Regions from separate parts of the Homo sapiens genome. Here region 2 is linked to region 1. Evidence: promoter capture Hi-C in human tissues and cell types (Jung and others, 2019). All regions are on one chromosome and are shown on one strand. Each heading gives the region's core, a stretch centred on a gene start or on the middle of the fragment in contact. The rest is flanking DNA. Distances are from core to core; before and after follow the strand shown. Region 1 holds the start of DNAJB8 (DnaJ heat shock protein family (Hsp40) member B8). Region 2 overlaps EEFSEC (eukaryotic elongation factor, selenocysteine-tRNA specific).

Region 1 (7,242 bases), core at 44-2,543:
GAATGAGGACAGAGAGGCTTGAAGAGGGGAGGTGGCCTGACAGAATTGACGGTGGAGCGTGTGGGGCCTAAGTGTGCGCTCATGCCTGTGTGTCCCTGTCCCTCCAGCAGGCCCTATGGAGGCCTCAGAGCCCCTGATGCTCCCCACTGGCTCCCCAAAAACTGGCGTGGAAGGAGACTAGCCTGAACCCTTTGCAGAAGGGAAACTCCTCTGCACACTGCCCGGCTCCACGGTCCACAGCTCCCTTCATGGGGAGCTCCCCACAGGGGCCTCCATCTCAGGATGCCCTTGATGGTGAGGTGTGGGACCTGCTCCCAGGTGACACACCTGTTCCCGTAAGTCCTACCGAGTGGTCTGTTCTGTGTGCCCTAAGACAGCCCTGAATGGGCGGCAGTGAGGGGGTCTCCAGCCCTGTCTCCATCCTGGCTGACTCCCACAGACCCATCCCAGGAACAAGGGTTGGAGCAGGGCAGTGGCTGGAAGAAATTTCCCCTGGGAGTACAACGCAGACCAGAGCCAGGGTCTCCAACAAGGCAGGGAGGGCCAGGACGGGGAGGCGGCCACAGGATTCTTGGATGCCTCATCATACTAGGTCCTTTGTCTCTTAACATTGTTTTCACCACCCCTCCTCCACTGTCCTGATTCCATCGTCATGGAAACTTCAGGCTTCACCTTTACAATGTCAGGCCACCAACACCCTCAGCAGTGTCACCATCACCATCAACACCCCAGCGTCCCATCCCCATCTCCTCTACCACTGCCACCAGCCCCACTATCACTATCATCTCTGTCACCGTCACCACGGTGCTCTCCACCCGTGTCAGCATTGTGTCACCACCACATCACTGTCACCACACTTCCTCCACCTCCATCTCCACCCACCATCCCATCTGTGACATCACCTTATCAGCTCTGCCACCAGTATCAACCACTCACACCGCCTTTGCCATCACCACCGTCATTGCCCCCTCTACTACCACCACCATCACCACCACCGGGTCTGCCTCAGCCAGACCCACCACTGCCTCTAATTAGACTGCCACCATCATCACTGCCACCACCACTGCCCCTCCAATGCCTTCCTGATGTCACCATCTGCTTTCTCTCTGCTATCCTCACACCCAACTCCATCACAACCACCACCTTCATCTGAGCCGCCATCACCCTCACAGTACACAGCCCTCAAATGTGTACCAAGGAGGAGGACATTTACTACACGCTGCACCCTGAACAGTCTGGGACCAGCGGTCAGGGAACAAGGAATCGAGATGCTCACCTGCAGCTCCCAGGTGAGCGGCTCTCTAGAGCTTGCCTGGGAGCTGCTGAGGAGCTCACGGTATTCCAGGAAGCTCCCCATCCATGCCTCAGCCTGTGGCTCAGAAGCAGGGTCTTCGCAGAAGATTGCCCCGAGCTGTTGCAAAGCTCACCATTGTCACCTGCCTGCAACGGCCTCTCTTTTCCACTCTCCAAATCCCTTGTATTGGCAGGCTCTAGTCTGGAATTATACCGGTGATGGGATTCTGGAAAATCCCTCAGATTTCTCCAGGATGCAAGGAGACCATGGAAGAGGTTGGTGTAATGCCAAGTTAGCAACAGAAAATACAGAGCCCCACACCTCAGTGCCATCACCATCGCCATCGGCACTCACACCAGCATGTCCACCACTGTGTCCTTCTCACCCCTCGGCACCCCCCTCTACCATTGCCTCTTCCACAACCACCCTCACCACCATCCTCCATTAATAGCACAATTCCTGCCTCCTATCCCATCACCACCACGGGTGTCCCCGGCACCAGCAGCACCAACACTGCTCCCAGCAGAGCCATCGTTACCAGCCCCGCTGTCAGTCCCATCTTGAGCATCTGGCATATGTTGGAGAACTGCTCACTCCCTCTTCCCCATGGGAATCTCAGGCCTCTCTTCCTATTGCCCTGAGATTTGCAGAACCTTCCTGAAGGAAACATTCTTTGCCCCATGGATACTGGCCTTGACCATGGGATGCAGCAAGACTGCCACACATCATGGCCCAACAGAAGCTTTCAGAGGCAGCCCAAGTTCCTGCTGTCTCTGAGTGGCACTGTCATGAGAGAGGGGTGTGCAGGTCAGAGCTGATTCTCCAGCCTGGGACCCACAGTGAGAAGCTATGGGAGGTGGGGCCCTGGCAGCTGCCTGTAGGCACCAGTGAGTGAAGTGGGGGGAACTAGATGTTTGTCGTGAGCCACTGAGAGGTGGAAGCTGTCACTGTGGTATAGCCGAACAAGATACAACCTCTGCTACCTCCACCACCTTCACCTTCATCATCACCATTACTGTCACCACTGCCAACCACACCAATGGCTCACTAGGAGCCATTCCCATCACCTCCTCATCATACCTGCACCATCACTGCCAACCACAACAAAGGCTCGCTGTTACCATCTCCTCTGGCATGACCATCACCACCACCACTACCATCATCAATTACTCTCAAGCACAAGCCTTGCTGCTGTCACCACCAGCATCACCATCATCATGATCAACTCCACCATCACCCATAATTACTCTCCCCCTCACACCCACCATGACCATTACCTCCACATCAACACTGCTCCCATGGTCACCTCTACTATATAATGACACCTTATCCATCTCCATGGACACCCACCGTGCCTCTCCCCACCAGCAACACAGTCAACAGCAGTGCCTCTCCCACTGCCACCGCCATCATGGAGAACTGTGCAGGGCAAGCATCTTTCTCCCGCCCCAGGAACAAGCCTGCAAGGGACAGCAGGTGCTAACTGCTAACCGAGACATAGTGACAAAAATCCAGCCACAGAGATAAAGAATCAGGTTCATCTGTAGCTACATCCAGTGGAGAAGTTCTGCTCTTCAACTCCTCTGCTAAGCCACATGTGTCAGCAGGTGTAGGTGGGTGGATGCCCAGCATGGGGGTGCGAGTCGTGCTTTTGATAAGCTGCATGGAGGGACAGCGATGGTCACTGGAGGCTGGGTTTACAAAGTGTCTCTACAGTCTGTCTCCATTCCTCCTGGCATTTGGGATTGGTTAGAACACACACTGTCCCCTGCTAGGAGCCTGAAACCTAGCACCCATGAGCACTGAAAGAAAAGAGAGAGAGGGAGGATAATAGAAAGGGATGAAGACTAGAAAAAGGAAGAGGAGGAAGAAGGGAGGAATGAAGGAAGGAAGGAGGAAGGAAAGAAGCCAGGAGTGAAGAAGGGAGGGAAGGGAGAAGGGGGAAGGGGAGGGAGGAAGGAAAGAAAGAAGGAAGGAAGGAGAAAGGGAGGAAGGAAGGAAGGAAGGAAGGAGGAAATGAAGGAAGGAGGGGGAAGGGAGGGAGGGAGGAGGGAAGGAAGGCAGGGAACGGAAGGGAAGGGAAGGGAAAGAAGGAGGGAAGGAGGGAGGGAGGAAGGGAGGAAGGAAAGAAGGCAGGCAGGAAGGCTATCTTTAGTTAAGACTTGGTGACCCAAACATCTAGGCTCTTTATTGGTGTGGTTAGTAGGTGGTTTAGCATGGTTTTGATCTTAATTGGAGTGGGGTGAGGTGAAGGTAGGAACAGATATTAATCAGTATTGTGAATTGCTGTTTCTATATATGATCCAACACCAGAACAAGAATTAAAGGAATATAAATGCCTAAGAATATTTGGTTACCTCACTCACCTGATTCGTTTTCTAGGGCTGTTACAAATTATTACAAACTGGGTAGCTCAATACAAAAGAAATCTCTTCCCCCAGTTCTGGAGGCCAGAGGTCTGAAATCGAGGTGTTAGTGGGGCCGCACTCCCTCTGGAGGCTGCAGGGAGAACCCTCCTGGCCCCCAGCTTCCAGCTGCGTCAGTGTCCATCTCCTATACGGACATGTGTCACTGGATTTAGGGCCCACTCAGATAATCCAGGATGATCTCATCTCGACATCCTTAATTTAATTACATCCGAAAAGATCCTTTTTCCAAATAAGCTCACATTCAGAGGTTCCAAGGATTAGGATAGGAACATATCTTTTTGGGGGCCACCATTCAACCCACTACAGTCAGTAATCAATATTTATCATCAATTCCTATTTTTCTTACCAGAATTGAGTGGAACACTTCTTTGGATTTGCTGTCCGCTGCAGCCTTGGCCCTGGTTTCACATCCCCTCCCTCACTGACTCGCTGTGTGACCTTGAGCACTGTGTGTCTCTGAGCCTGGTTCATCCAAGAGTTTACCGACGGCCCTCGTGTGCCAGCCACTGTCCTAGACAGGGACAGACTTTCCCGCCTTTGTGGAGCTTACCCCGGAAGACCTGGCCAGATAATGGGCACAAAAAAAGCAGGCTCTTGTCCCCACCCCAGCCTGCCTGAACCCCACCTTGGCCTCCTCTTGCCTCAGCTGCTGCCCAGCCATCGGCCGAGTGGACATACCCAGGACGCCCTTGCCCGCCTCCCCCACCACGGCCACAGACCTTTGTCACTCACCAAGGCTGGAATCCCGTGGCTGATCCTGCCTCTGCCCTTTGGCTCCCGGGACTCAGCCCACACCACCTGGGTCACAGAGCATCCCATTCCCACACACCGTTGTGGCCACCTCACCAGCAGGGGCAGGCCCATATGCCCAGGTTTGCCTGGTGAGGAGCTGGGGGCGGGGGTATGCCCCGCCCCGGGAGCTGACGTCATAAAAGGAGCTCTGGAGGGCAGCCCACTCTGGCCTGGCCCCACAGCGGCAGTGTCCCTCCCCTCCCCCCACTCCTCTCAGTGGGGGCCCCTCCAGTCCCTGAGAATTGGTACTACGAAAAGGTGAACTCCTGGGCAGAATCTTGCCTAGAGCTTGCGGAGTCCAGCCAGGCCCCTGCTGAAGGGCCCCAGACCACCGGCCACTTCTCCCCCGTCCATCTGACCAGCTGGGCCCCTGCGCCCACCTGGCCTCCACGTTCCCTCTCCTCTCACCCACACCCCTGGCCATGGCTAACTACTACGAAGTGCTGGGCGTGCAGGCCAGCGCTTCCCCGGAGGACATCAAGAAAGCCTACCGCAAGCTGGCCCTTCGTTGGCACCCCGACAAGAACCCTGACAATAAGGAGGAGGCGGAGAAGAAGTTCAAGCTGGTGTCTGAGGCCTATGAGGTTCTGTCTGACTCCAAGAAACGCTCCCTGTATGACCGTGCTGGCTGTGACAGCTGGCGGGCTGGTGGCGGGGCCAGCACGCCCTACCACAGCCCCTTCGACACCGGCTACACCTTCCGTAACCCTGAGGACATCTTCCGGGAGTTTTTTGGTGGCCTGGACCCTTTCTCCTTTGAGTTCTGGGACAGCCCATTCAATAGTGACCGTGGTGGCCGGGGCCATGGCCTGAGGGGGGCCTTCTCGGCAGGCTTTGGAGAATTTCCGGCCTTCATGGAGGCCTTCTCATCCTTCAACATGCTGGGCTGCAGCGGGGGCAGCCACACCACCTTCTCATCCACCTCCTTCGGGGGCTCCAGTTCTGGCAGCTCGGGGTTCAAGTCGGTGATGTCGTCCACCGAGATGATCAATGGCCACAAGGTCACCACCAAGCGCATCGTGGAGAACGGGCAGGAGCGCGTGGAGGTGGAGGAAGACGGGCAGCTCAAGTCGGTGACTGTGAACGGCAAGGAGCAGCTCAAATGGATGGACAGCAAGTAGGCGCTGGCCACCCGGCCCTGCCTTCCCACCACCACCACCGTGCATGGGGCAGCAAACACGTGGGGCCGCAGACATAGCCTGATGGTTAATAAATGTGCCAAGTGAGTTCATGGCATAGCTTTCTCAGCTTTGTGGGGACATGGGGCCAGCTCCAGCCTAGTGAACATGAAGGAGGGAGTGGGTGCTGCCTCCAGGGCCTGGGCTGTTTCTATCAGGAAGCCAGGGGTGGTTCTGCAGGGGGACTGTCATCTCTCCTGTGCCCACCATCTGGGTTGACAAATAACGTGGCTGCCCTGTCCTGATTACCTCAAACCCAACCCTGACCCCTATCCACTCTCTACTGCTGGCCCCTGCCATCTGCACAGGCCTTGCTGCTCCCGTTCTCAGCCTTCCCCTTTCTACCCACCCGCATAAGTTCTTCCCGGGACAGCTGTGCCAAACCCACGTTCAGTCACGTTGCCTGGTAGCTTTAAATCAGGCTCTCCCTGCGCTAAGCATAAGGACTGCACATCTCATCCTCACCACAAGGGCCTGGTGGCCTGGGCCCACCCACCTGCCCCGGCCTTCTGTCTCTGGTCTCTGACCTCCCACCGTGCTGGCCTCCCCAGTTGTTGCACTGCACCACACACCCTGCAGCCCCAGGGCCTTTGTACAGGCCACGCTCCCTGGCGAGTGCCCACTCATCTTCAGGCCTGGCATCCATGGGTGGGGGCAGGATCCCAGGGAGCAGGTCTCAGCCACGTGGAGCCAGAGGTTTCCCCAAGTCAGAGCCAGGCTGACCCCCTCGGAGGGTGAGTGAGCTCCCCGTCACGGGAGGGTGCCGGTGCTAAAAAGGAAAGGGGACTCTGTCCTGATGACCTGAGTCCTGCTGAGTGCCAATCTTTAAAAAGTATGTATTTTAAAAGTAACGTTTTACTTTGAGGCTGGGTGCGGTGGCTCACGCCTGTAATCCCAGCACTTTGGGAGGCTGAGACGGGCGGATCATGAGGTCAGGAGTTCAAGACCAGCCTGGCCAACGTGGTGAAACAACCATCTGTACTAAAAATAAAAAATATATACAAAAATTAGCCGGGCGTGGTGGTGAGTGCCTGTAACCACAGCTACTCCAGAGGCTGAGACAGGAGAATTTCTTAAACCCAGGGGGTGGAGGTTGCAGTGAGCTGAGATCATGCCACTTGCACTCCAGTCTGGGCAACAGAGCAAGACTCCTCCTCAAAAAAAGTAACATTTTACTGTGAAACAATCTCAAACTCACAGATGTGTCAGGCACTATTAATTGGATGCAATTCAAGAAATATTGATTGAGCACCTGTTAGACACTGGGGATACAGCAAGGAACAAAACAGGCAGACCCCTACCCTCATGTGGTTAGTATTCTAGTTGAGGGAGACGCATGAAAAACAGGTGTGCAGAACATGGTCCCCACTAGCAATGAACGCCGGAGAGGAAATGGGCAGGTGAGCTGACTGAGAAGGGGGCTCAGGGAGTGGGCAGGGGAGTGTTGAGTCACTCAACACTCAACAGAGTGGCCTTGCCGCGCGCGGTGGCTCATGCCTGTAATCCCAGCACTTTGGGAGGCCAAGGTGGGTGGATCACAAGGTCAAGA
Region 2 (6,472 bases), core at 2,496-4,995, 290 kb after region 1:
CGAAAGGTCATAAAGTATATATAATTCCATTTAATTCACGTCATTGCACTCCAGCCTGGGTGATAAGAGTGAAACTCTGTCTCAAAAAAGAAAAAAAAAAAGTTTCTAAAAAAATATGATATGGTTGCACACAAAAGAATATTCTATTATAAATTAATGTCACAGAAAAAGTCTGTTTTATTGCTTAGTAAAAAGAAGGTATATATGAAGTGCTTCATAATATTAAGTTATAAAATGATGAATAAATTAAAATAATTATCCCCCCAAAAGATAATTCTGTACATACATAAATATATCATACATTATATAATACCCCAGCAGCGATGGGGCCATTCCCTATAATCAAACATTAAATATTCACACTAAATGGGAAAAATAAAAGATTCAGTCAGTTCAGATGGGGTTTTGCATCCAAACTCCAAAAAACTGCTTTCAGTTTACAGAGCTATTTGAATTTTCAAATTTATGGATAAGGTATGGCAGACTTGTATTTGTTTTTTTCCTTCTTTCAGGATCTCGCTCCGTTACCCAAGCTGGAGTGCAGTGACACAATCATAGCACACTGTAGCCTCAAACTCCTGGGCTCAAACAATCTCTAGCTTCAGCCTCCCAAAATGCTGGGATTACAGCCATGAGCCATCATGCCATGCCAGACCTGTATTTCTTACCATGTCTGGGTAAGGTGCAAAATACAATCACTGCAGAGTTTGTGATACAATTGAGAATTTCTAAACTGTCCCTTGGAAATGTCAATTCTAGAAATATGCAAACAGTGTAATACAGCTAGTTCATTCTATAAGAGATAAGGAAAAAAAATGTCCTTCATTTTAAACAGAATCAGAACAGTATGGTATCACTAACAATACTCACAAAATTTAAGTAATAACTTGAAAAATACACGTTAAGCCAAAGCAAAATACAGAACTACAGAGATGGCTATAAATAAATATACTGATAGATACTTACATACTTACCCTATACTTTTAAAACATGGGAAAATATATATACAAAGGAATATTATTCAGCCTTAAAAAAGGAAATTCTGACACATGCTACAACATGTATGAACTCTGAGAACATTATGCCGAGTGAAATAAACCAGTCACAGAAGGGCAAATACTGTATGATTCCACTTAGTAGTCCAAGTCACAGAGAGAATAGAATGGCGGTGGCCAGGAGCTGGTGGGAGGGGGAAATAAGGAGTAAGTGTGTAATGGATACAGAGTTGCAGTTTGAGAAGATGAAAAGGTTCTGGAGATGGATAGCAGTGATGGTTGCACTACAATATGCATGTACTTAATGCCACTGAACTGTATACTTAAATATAGTCAAAAAGGTAAATCTTATATTATGAATATGTTATCACAATTTTTTTTAACTTGGAAGAAAATAGGAAAAAACACTAAAAGTAGTTGTTGGTGGAATTTGAGGGTATCTGGAAGGCCAGATCAATCAAATCTAGGAATTGTTTGGCTTCGATGCCTCTCCCTTTATTCTTACCATCTCTCTGGAACACTGAACACTGGGTCCAGGGCTACAAAAAGCTGCTCAGTGGTCTGCACTGCTGTTCCTGCTGGTGGTCTATTGTATCCTCTCAGGCAATGCAAAAAGCATGTTTTCACAGTCACACTAAACCTCAGAACACAAACTGTGCCCACACTCACCCAATTTAATACTCCAGAACATCACTCCTTACACAGATAAGGAATGGAAAGCAACTTATGTCAAGCCATTCTACAAACACTTGAAGAATTCTCGAATATCTCTCCAGTAGTCTATGAATGACCCAAATGAGGAAGAAAAAGACAACAACACATCAACTGAGGACCCGCTATCCACCAGGCAGTTAGTATGTAGGGTGCCCTGCACGCATCGGTTCTCACAATACCATGAGAAGGTAAGTATTGCTATCAATGTTTTACAAAGATGGAAACTGAGGTGCAAAGAAATGATGCATCTTGTTCCAGGTCACATTTCCAATAAGCACCGTAAGAAGCAACGCTCCAAAAGCCTTCCTTAGGAAGAATGATGATCTCTAACATTAAAGTGCAGGAAAAGAGCTTAAGTGTCACCAGAAGTAGAATTCAATGATTAGACAGACATAGAGTATACACAATCAACTCTGGCTGCATTTATGGGAGGCAGCATAGCCTAGTGGTCAAGATCATGGGCTTGGGAGCCCAACAGGTTGGGGTCAAATGTTTACTAACATTTTTAGATTTCAAGTCACATATAAGAGGATAGGAACAGTGTCTAACTCATTAGAGGTTTATCAGGATTAAATCAGATTACCACAGGTTAAAGGGTTTAGGAAGTACCTGACATAGTCAAAGCTCAATAAAGTACTAGCAGTAATATTTATTCTATGTTCTCGAAGCAACTCTAACAGGTAGGTATTCTGAGCACCATTTTTACTCATGGTAAGCCTTAATACTCATGGTAAGCCTTAAGTTCAGAAAGGTTAAATAAGTTGACAAAGATCATTCAGCTAGTAAAATGGTAAAACTAGAATTCAGGCCTGGATCAGCGGGATTCCAAAGAAAAACAAGATTATGGCATACAAAAAGAGGGTAAATTGAAAAGAAAGGCCTCTTCCCGCTCCTTCTCTCTGGCAACCCGCCCACCCCCACTACTAGACCAACCACCCCACCCCCCCGCCCCGATCTCTGTGGCTGGTGGGAAGCAGGCCAAGTGCCAAAGCCACAGTGGTCGCCAGGTCTCTGCTAGCAGCAGGGCTGGTGGGAGCCCTCTGGCTCCTTCTAGGCAAGAGCAGCAACCCTAACCCCTACTGCACAGGTCTGGGTGTGAGGACACCCAGGTTCCAGCAGGCACTGTCTCTAGGAACTGACCCTGTGACATGTACACACAACCATAAAAGACAGAATAACCAAGGCCTTCCAGACACTACTGTTCGAGATAGCACAAGTCATCCTGAGAGTGGAACAGTATGTTGTCAATACAAAGAATGAGGGGAAACTATTATAAAGTAATATGGACCCATCTCCAAAACACGCTCACAAATGAAAACTGATGATGTGTGTTGGCAGTGCGGGGAGTGTAAGGAGACTGAAACACAGAGACAGAAGGAAGGCATACTTTTCTCTGCATATCCTTTAACATTATTTAAGTTTTCTATCATGTACATATATAACCTAATCCAAAATGTAATACTTTTTTAAAATCCTGGATTGACCACCTTCTTACTACAGAATTTTTTTTTTTTTTTTGGATAGTTACTTAACCTGTCTGAGTCACCTTTTCTTCATTTATTTAAAAAACTAAAACCAAAACAAAACTCTTCTCCCAGATGTGCGGGGGCATTACACAAGATAATTTAATAGGCACTCAAACATGGAACTTGATTATCATTAGCTGTCGTCTATAAACTTAATCTGGGTACCTTGCCCCATCAAAGAAAACAAAAATAGGCCAGGCACAGTGGCTCATGCCTGTAATCCCGGCACTTTGGGAGCCCAAGGCAGGCGGATCACTTGAGGGCAGGAGCCAAGACCAGCCTGGCCAACATGGTGAAACCCCGTCTCTACTAAAAATACAAAAATTAGCCGGGCATGGTGGCACATGCCTGTAATCCCAGCTACTCAGGAGCCTGAGGTGGGAGAATCGCTTGAACCCGGGAGGCGGAGGTTCCAGTGAGCTGAGATCGTGCCATTGCACTCCAGCCTGAGCAATAGAGCGAGACTTCGTATCAAAAAACAAACAAACAAAAAGAAACAAAGAAAAACAAAAACAAAAACAAACATGGCTTGACAACATTAACCCTGTATTGCTCATGTTTCATTTCTTATTCCTCAGGACATTTCTGAAGTTAAAGAAACCCAGCCTCAGTGTGATGAGGACCGCCCCCCACCAGCCCAGGTGGGCTGTGCATAAGGATCAGACATACTGGGGGAGCAGTGATCCAACAAGAAAGACCTTTCAAAGGAGAGACACTTCAAAACTCCTTATCGCCGTCTCCACTAGCCAACGCCAAGTTCTACTTCCATTTTATATCACCGCTTCTCTTTTGTTTTTGTTGTGTTTCTAAATCTGGATCAGGATGGAGACTGGCAGTATCCCTTGAGAAAAGAGGACCATGGCTGAAAACACAAAAAAGTGTTCAGAATGCCCACTTGTGGGCCAAGCACATGTGATCTGCTTAGAAGAATGTCGGCATAGGCTGTAGGTCTTGATGGGAGGACAGTAAACAAACAGACAAACTCAGAATGCTCTCCACACACAGAAAAGGATTTGGGAATGGGAACAATGAAAGTTATTCTACCAAGTATTTTATCCTTCATCTGAAATAGAAAGGCTGTCCCACTGGATGGAAAAGATGGGGCCCCTTAGGAAACTGTGGCAGCTCTTTGCCAGGGAGCCAGCCACACACCCACTCACGCCCAGGCTGACTCCCTGCGTCACCTGCCAAAGGACATGGTCAGTCCCCATCCATGTCCTGAAGTGCCCCCTGAAGCAGCCAAGGCTAGATGCTTCTAAGGGACAAGGAGGCCCTGGCAAAAGGGCAACTTGCTACCCAGGAGTGATCTCTCAAATTTCCGAGGTCTCCAAACTCCTGAAATGAGGCAGATGGTCAAATCAAAGCTTTCAGAAGAAAAAGATCTCCACAATAAATACAGAAATAAAGGCCTTCAGGACTTCATTAGCCCCCTTTTTTTAAATTCATTTTTAAGTCACATCTGATTTTCAAAGACTATGCCTTCCTGCTGTACCACCAGGTTCCCTGTCTTCTGGAGTAAAGCAGCAATTCCCAGGCCTCAATGGCACACTAGCTCGCAGGTTCTGCTGGCTCTGGACCTGCTGCTCTGCTCCTTTCACAGGCCTGCCTGGTCCCATCGATGCAGGGCCTGGAGTCTCTTGCACTGAGTCAAGGGCAGAGGAAGCTGCAACTCAATGGCACTGCACATCTGTAATTCACTGCCTTTGGCTCCCTCCAGCTGTTGTTCCACACCATCCTCACAACTCTTTAAGGTCTTACATTCTTACTTTCCCCATTTTAAAGTCAAGGAAATTGTGTTAAGTAACCTCTTCTCCCCAAGACTGCACAGCCACTTGTGTGGCTGAGTGCCACACAATAAAAATACACCTCATGCCTCTGAATGCTGCCTGCCAGGTGGGAAAACAGGTGTAAGGGTTCTGGCTGTGTAGAAGAAGAAAAACGGTGTTGTCAAAGGAATAGCTGTTCCCCTGGCCAGGTCATTATGGTCAGGAAATCATACAGCAACTCGGATGGAGTGTGTCTAGATTCACAGAGCACATGAGAGGTTAACCATATATTGAAGTCCTTCGTAGTTTTGTCTTAAGTACTCGATCTGATGAGACAAAAACAACTTCATGTGTTTTGAGCAGTTCAGTGAATGATTTTTTCAAGAAAGAAAATTAAGTTTCCTCTCAATCTATGTTAACAAAATGGCAAAAAAAAACCAAAAACATGAGGAAGGAAATTGGGGTCTCCTCTATGCTAAGCATAATGCAAATAACAGATCAGAGATTTTAAATGCAATTATTCCCTCCTCTGTGTTTTAGTGGTTAAAACCTGGCAATTTGAGGTGGTCACTCACAAACATGAATCTCAAACAATGGAGTTTTTATCTACCTCCAAAAAAGTATGGATCTTGGAAAAAGAATTTTTTTTTTTACTCTGATAAGACAGTAATCTCCTACCTTGCTGACTCAAATGTACTTGCATATTAATTGCTTCAGACCCCAAAATCCCTGCTGAACTGGCTAAATTTTGGGCCAAATTCAATAATCCAGCAACCTCCCATTCAATACCTCACCAAGATAACTTTGCATGTTTAATTTAAAAGTACCGATCGCTTTTAAATGAAATGCTAACGCAAGCCCGTCTGCCGGCCCAAGCCACTACTGCATCTCTGAGGGACAAGCTGCAAGTTGGAGAGCTGACTAAAGTCTGAGCAGCCTTCGGACAACGAGGTAAACACAGCCTACCATCTCTCTCCTAAATGGTATCTGTTTCCCCAAATCAAACTTTTAAAACTTGCCCCTTTTGGTTCATTTCCCTGATATAGAGGCAATGAGATCTAGCCTCAGATACTCAAATATTATCTGCTCCAATTGTATCTGATTAGCAAGAAATACACAACTAACCCTCTAGCCAATGCGAATGCCTACACGATTCTAGCTGAACTGACCTAAGGCATTTTTTCCTTTCTCTTTTGCAACTGTGTTCCATGTTTGACCCTTCAAATTTATTTTAAGTAGTTTTGCAAACAGCTTCCTCTCCCCCTTCCTCCCCTATGCAGCCAGCATCTCACATTTCGCCTGCACAGAACATGTTTTGTCCACCTTGGGAAGTGGCACTTTGGGAAATGTAGAGACTGCTTCAGAAAAATCAGAATCAGAAATAGGTTCCATTCATTTAAAAGAGTATCAACGGCTAATTTTTATTTATTTTAGTAGACTAAATCAGAATTAAAGCTGTGACTCCCAAGTG

The links. The method cuts DNA at HindIII sites, captures the fragments that hold promoters and counts their contacts. A contact is called where the count stands out against the background at its distance.
Region 2: a fragment that was not itself captured here is called in contact with the fragment with the promoter of DNAJB8 in region 1 in 2 of the 25 tissues and cell types used here (dorsolateral prefrontal cortex and stomach).

The regions. Positions count from the first base shown.
Region 1 is chr3:128,460,941-128,468,182 of GRCh38, reverse strand. DNAJB8 (DnaJ heat shock protein family (Hsp40) member B8) reads left to right here and starts at 1,293. Exons shown (of 3, transcript NM_153330.6): 1 at 1,293-1,569; 2 at 2,747-2,907; 3 at 4,073-5,746. The coding sequence starts at 4,938. The coding sequence ends at 5,636. It overlaps DNAJB8-AS1 (DNAJB8 antisense RNA 1), which reads right to left and starts at 4,589. Exons shown (of 3, transcript NR_037890.1): 1 at 4,456-4,589; 2 at 4,070-4,283. The HindIII fragment of the contact is 25,608 bases long and covers 1-7,242 here.
Region 2 is chr3:128,179,068-128,185,539 of GRCh38, reverse strand. All of the region lies in intron 1 of EEFSEC (eukaryotic elongation factor, selenocysteine-tRNA specific), which reads right to left. Among named protein-coding and RNA genes, the nearest start is that of EEFSEC, 29 kb to the right of the region's middle. The HindIII fragment of the contact is 3,766 bases long and covers 1,863-5,628 here.